2 separate regions of the Homo sapiens genome follow, and region 2 is linked to region 1. The links are contacts of gene promoters, found by promoter capture Hi-C in blood cells and fetal thymus (Javierre and others, 2016). All regions are on one chromosome and are shown on one strand. The core of a region is centred on a gene start or on the middle of the fragment in contact, and the rest is flanking DNA. Distances in the headings are between cores, read along the strand shown.

Region 1 (2,674 bases), core at 83-2,582:
TTCTTCAGCATTTATTATGTGTCAGACACTGCTAAATGATTTACAGGTATTATCTCACTGAACTCTTAGAACAACTGTGTGAGGTGGATATGAACTTCCCCACTTTACAGCCGGCCACTTTGAGGCTCAGAGAGGCACCATAGCTTCAACACAGTCAAGCAACAAGTAAACGGTGGAGGAATCCACCTGCTGGGAGTTTACTGGCCGACTGGAAAGCAGAGAGAGGGTGGACCAGCACAAAGCCGCGGGGGGCTGGTAATGAGACAGGAAAGTTGGGTTCAAACCTGGGTCACATGATCCCCAGATCCCTAGGAGCCGAAGCAGAAGCAAAGAAAAAAAGGGGTGCAGCCTGGTGGGGAGGGGGTGCCCGGGAGGCCGGGAGAGAGGAGTCACGGTGGTTGTGCGCCTTCCTCGTCCCCAGTGCACAGGTCAAGCCTCTCCCCTCCCGCCCTCTCACCCTCCCAACCTTATTTAGAAACCGTGTCCCCGAGACAGGAAGGGCGGCGGGCCGAGAAGCACGGAGAGTCCCGGTCTCATTTCCTTTCGAATCCCCCTGTGGAATTTCATTTCATACGGTGAGGAAATCAGAGCGCGAGACCGTCGGCGGGTCTGCAGCTCCGCAGCTCTGGGGCGCCTCCCCGCTGGCGGCTGGAGGTGGGCGGCTCCCTGCGCAGGTCGGGCGAGTCTGGGGGCGGGGAGAGGCCGGGCCCCGATCGCCGCTGGTCCGGAGTGAAAATAGCTGTGGACTCACGCAGTACCAGGCACCATGCTAAGCCTTCTACACTTTATCTCTAATCCTCCCAAGTGACTTTACAGAGGAGACTGACGCCGAGGGGTTGAGCAATTTGCTCAAGGTCACACAACCGGGACTGAAAGCCACAATCGGTGTAAATCCAAATCCCCAATTCTTTGTGTACGTTTCTCTGCCTGACGGGGAGGTGGCCACCGGCCTAGGTTACAGCTGAAAGGAGACAGGAAGGAAAGGGGGCAGATGGAACAGGGCGCACTTCTCACCTGCAGAAGGGGGCAGGACGGCGTGGCTGGAGCCACTGGGCTGCGTCCCTGCTTGGCCCCTGCGCGCCTAGATCCGGGTGGGAGGAAAGCAAGAGCCGGGAGGCGGGCGGGGCGGGGCGCTAGGGGAGGGAGGGAGGGAGGGGCGGCCGGAGGAGGGGGCCGGAGGGCGGGGGCCTGACTCCTCCTGCGGGAGAGCGGCCCCGCCCCGCCGCCTCGCCCCTAGCTGCCCACCGCGCCCGGCCATTGGAGAGGCCCGCTGTCCGTCCCGCCCCGCCGCCGCGCCGCGAGCCTCCAGCGCCGCGCAGGGCTCCGGCGGTGAGAGCTGCGCAGCGCTGGCTGCTGGCTGGCCTCGCGGAGACGCCGAACGGACGCGGCCGGCGCCGGCTTGTGGGCTCGCCGCCTGCAGCCATGACCCTCGCAGCCTGTCCCTCGGCCTCGGCCCGGGACGTCTAAAATCCCACACAGTCGCGCGCAGCTGCTGGAGAGCCGGCCGCTGCCCCCTCGTCGCCGCATCACACTCCCGTCCCGGGAGCTGGGAGCAGCGCGGGCAGCCGGCGCCCCCGTGCAAACTGGGGGTGTCTGCCAGAGCAGCCCCAGCCGCTGCCGCTGCTACCCCCGATGCTGGCCATGGCCTGGCGGGGCGCAGGGCCGAGCGTCCCGGGGGCGCCCGGGGGCGTCGGTCTCAGTCTGGGGTTGCTCCTGCAGTTGCTGCTGCTCCTGGGGCCGGCGCGGGGCTTCGGGGACGAGGAAGAGCGGCGCTGCGACCCCATCCGCATCTCCATGTGCCAGAACCTCGGCTACAACGTGACCAAGATGCCCAACCTGGTTGGGCACGAGCTGCAGACGGACGCCGAGCTGCAGCTGACAACTTTCACACCGCTCATCCAGTACGGCTGCTCCAGCCAGCTGCAGGTGGGCGCCCCCACCCCCACCCCTGGCGGGACCCCTTGGGGAGGGACGCTCCAAACTAACTTTGCAGAGCCCATGCCAAGTTGATCATCCTAGCCCGAAGGAGACAGCTCTCCTGGAAAAGTGATTTCCATCCCCACCCCCACTTTCTCAGGGACTGGAAGCCAAAACGTTGTGTAAGTCATCTGGCCTGGGAAAGAACCCACTCTTACACCCCGCCCTTCCGTTTTTCTCTCTTGCCCACCCATGTCTGGCCCAGACCCCTAACCCCAGTGGAGCTGAGGGTTATCTCTGCCAAGGATTCTGGCCGCCACTGCTCGGTGGGCGAGTGGGAGGGAGCCAGCTGCAGCTAAGACTTGGAGGGAGTGATAAGGAGACCATCCTTCACCGAACTTCCTTCTCCCCACTATTTTTGGGGTGTTATTAAATGAAACACTACTGCACCTTTTTCTGCTGAATAGCCCCTTCTCACGACGTCCCGCAGCGTTTTAGAGGTCATGCATGAAGGAGTGGTTGGGTTGGCTTGAGTTCTTTCTTATCCTCACAGTTGAAGGCACGTTTAATGCTTGGAGGGTGAGAAGAAGCTGCAGGAAGGTGGTTGGTATATTGGAAGAAATTTTTTTGCAGTCATTAAAAAATGTAAAGCATATCTAATGATAGAGAAAATGTTTATTCCACAGTAATAAGAATTTGCATATACAGGGTGATTATAATCCTGCAAAATAAAAAATTTATTGGGATAATAAAAGAC
Region 2 (2,674 bases), core at 110-2,609, 240 kb before region 1:
AATAAACTATACTGTACAAGTAAATAGTAGTAAAGATCTGACACAGGATAGTACAAGAGAATTTCAAAAGTCTTTGCCCACTAAACGATTTGAGATTTTTTCATTTGCAGAATAGTATACAGTTAGCTGGACTAAAATACTGCAAACTTTAGCATAAGTAAGAGTGCTTTTTAAGTTCAACCACAGCTGCCAGTTGTCTTGTGGAGGTATTTTGTTGATTTTAAGAATACGTGCAAGAAACAGCAGCTTTCCCAGCACTTCAGTCAACAAAGATCTACATTTACCAATTTTTTTTTAACTTGTGCAGAAAATATGTTGTCTTTTGTGTGGAGCCACAGTTTCTTTTTCATTAAATGAAATGGAAGTAAAATCCATTAAAAGGCTTAAAATTCACACAGGAACAAACTCTTTTAAATGTGTTTAACTGATTCAAAACATTTTATGAAGATTTTAAAGAATAAACATGAATGTCATGAACATTACTACATTAATCTTCTCTGCTAGTAAGTGAAAAAAGCAAAGATAACAAGCCTATGGCTTACCACAAAAATTCTTTATCACAGTCCACAGCAATACTTCAATGCACACAAATTAAATAAATGTATTGTGTATCTACTGTATCCTAGCATGATCATAGGCCTATTAAAAAATTCAAAACAAGTATAATGTATGACTTCATATATACATACAAATATATATGTTTATATAATATATAATATAATATATAAGAATATATATGGTCTTTAAGTGAACAATTCAAGACTTAAATCTGAACCAACTAAAGAAAAAATTTAAAAAACCTAACTGAGTTCTTAATTCTTTATTTCTGATTACACATTGAAAAGAGAAGTCAGATATTCTTAATTACATAAGCCACAAAATCAAAAGCTTAACAATTATTCCCTGGGTACTTAGAAGAAATTAACAGTTATCCCCCCACCAAAAACAGTGATTTTCAATTCTCACTACCAAATTAAAGTAATTTCATATCTGGAGTCTCATCAATATTTAGCTCTTGGGAAAAATAAATGGGAAAATAAAACAGAAGAACCTGAAAATTTTGCAGATTACAAGGAAAATGGATAAAAATTAGCAGAGGCTAAACTAAATAACAATCTGTATCTTAATCTATATGAAAACTCTAGATTAAGTGATTTGATAAATTTGTCTTATAATTTTCAAGTATCTCCTAAATATTTCTTGAATCAGATCTCACCACCACTACACCCCCACTTAGAATCTGCTAGACACAAGCTCCTCAAGAGCAGGTACCTTGTTGTCTCCACTCCACTGCTGTGTATCACTCAGTCTTAACTTAATGATGGCCTATTATATATGATGAAAAAAGAAATGAATACACAAAAAATGACAATTTTTTTTTTTGAGATGGAGTCACCCAGGCTGGAGTGCAGTGGTGCAATCTCAGCTCACTGCAACCTTTGCCTCCCAGGTTCAAGTGATTCTCCTGCCTCAGCCTCCCAAGTAGCTTGGACTACAGGTGGGTGCCACCAGGCCTGGGTATTTTTTATATTTTTAGTAGAGACGGGGTTTTCCCATGTTGGCCAGGCTGGCCTTGAACTCCTGATCTCAAGTGATCTGCCCACCTTTGCCACTGAAAGTGCTGGAATTACAGGCGTGAGCCACCATGCCCGGCAAACCAAAATATTTATTAAAAGCAGTATACACGGCTCACCCACACATACAATCACATTCTTATAAATATGTAAACTGGTTTTATTAAAAATGAATTTGTACCAGCCTTTATAAACAGTAATAGATCTAGAAACAAAAATTCAAATTGTTTTATCAAATTACATGGAATAAAGCTTATTTCTCTTATTTATAAATAAAATAATAGCTGATATCTTCAAGTAGCACACACATTTCAAAAGAACATAGGCGGTTTTTTGAAAACTCTTACATTCACTCATATTTACCTAATTGCCTTCAAAAACAAGTTAAAACACAAACATGGGTAAAACAAGTTTACTTCTCTTTAAAGAACTGATAAACTTCTGATGTTTGCCTTTATATAACATACATAAATACGTAATTCATTTTATTCCTATTGACTTACAGCAAAAAAAAGAAACAATCTTCTGAATATAAATTTGTCTTTAAAATTTAACCTAAAAAATACTGAAATTGGTACCAGAAATGGCCTTAAGAAAGACAGACATCTACATAAATCAATTATAAAAGAAATAGAAGTGGCTCATGCCTGTAATCCCAGCACTTTGGGAGGCCAAGTTGGGCGGATCACGAAGTTAGGAGATCGACACCATCCTGGCCAACATGGTAAAACCCCGTCTCTACTAAAATACAAAAAAAAAAAAAAATTAGCTGGGCACGGTGGCACATGCCTGTAGTCCCAGCTACTCGGGAGGCTGAGGCAGGGGGATCGCTTGATCCCAGGAGGTGGAGGTTGCAGTAAGCCCAGATCGCGCCACTGCACTCCAGCCTGGAGCAAGACTCCATCTCGAAAAAAAAAAAAAAAAAAGAAAAGAAAAGAAAAGAAACAAAAGAAATAGAAAAACCAGTAATAGAGCTCTCAAAAAAATGCCCCACGTCCAGATGACTTCTCAGGAGAATGCTAGCATACTTTTTAAAAGTATAAACTCCCAATGCTACTTTAAAATTATTCCAAAAACATAGATAATAAGGAAAACTTCTA

The links. The method cuts DNA at HindIII sites, captures the fragments that hold promoters and counts their contacts. A CHiCAGO score of 5 or more calls a contact.
Region 2: a fragment that was not itself captured here is called in contact with the fragment with the promoter of FZD4 in region 1 in 1 of 17 cell types (erythroblasts); the score reaches 5.7 in erythroblasts.

What each region holds. Positions count from the first base shown.
Region 1 is chr11:86,954,053-86,956,726 of GRCh38, reverse strand. It overlaps FZD4 (frizzled class receptor 4), which reads left to right and starts at 1,332. Exons shown (of 2, transcript NM_012193.4): 1 at 1,332-1,926. The coding sequence starts at 1,642. It overlaps FZD4-DT (FZD4 divergent transcript), which reads right to left and starts at 1,106. Exons shown (of 3, transcript NR_038905.1): 1 at 1,015-1,106. RefSeq lists silencers at 605-754, 1,105-1,474, 1,605-1,654. The HindIII fragment of the contact is 4,830 bases long and covers 1-2,674 here.
Region 2 is chr11:87,191,814-87,194,487 of GRCh38, reverse strand. All of the region lies in intron 5 of TMEM135 (transmembrane protein 135), which reads right to left. Among named protein-coding and RNA genes, the nearest start is that of TMEM135, 160 kb to the right of the region's middle. The HindIII fragment of the contact is 938 bases long and covers 891-1,828 here.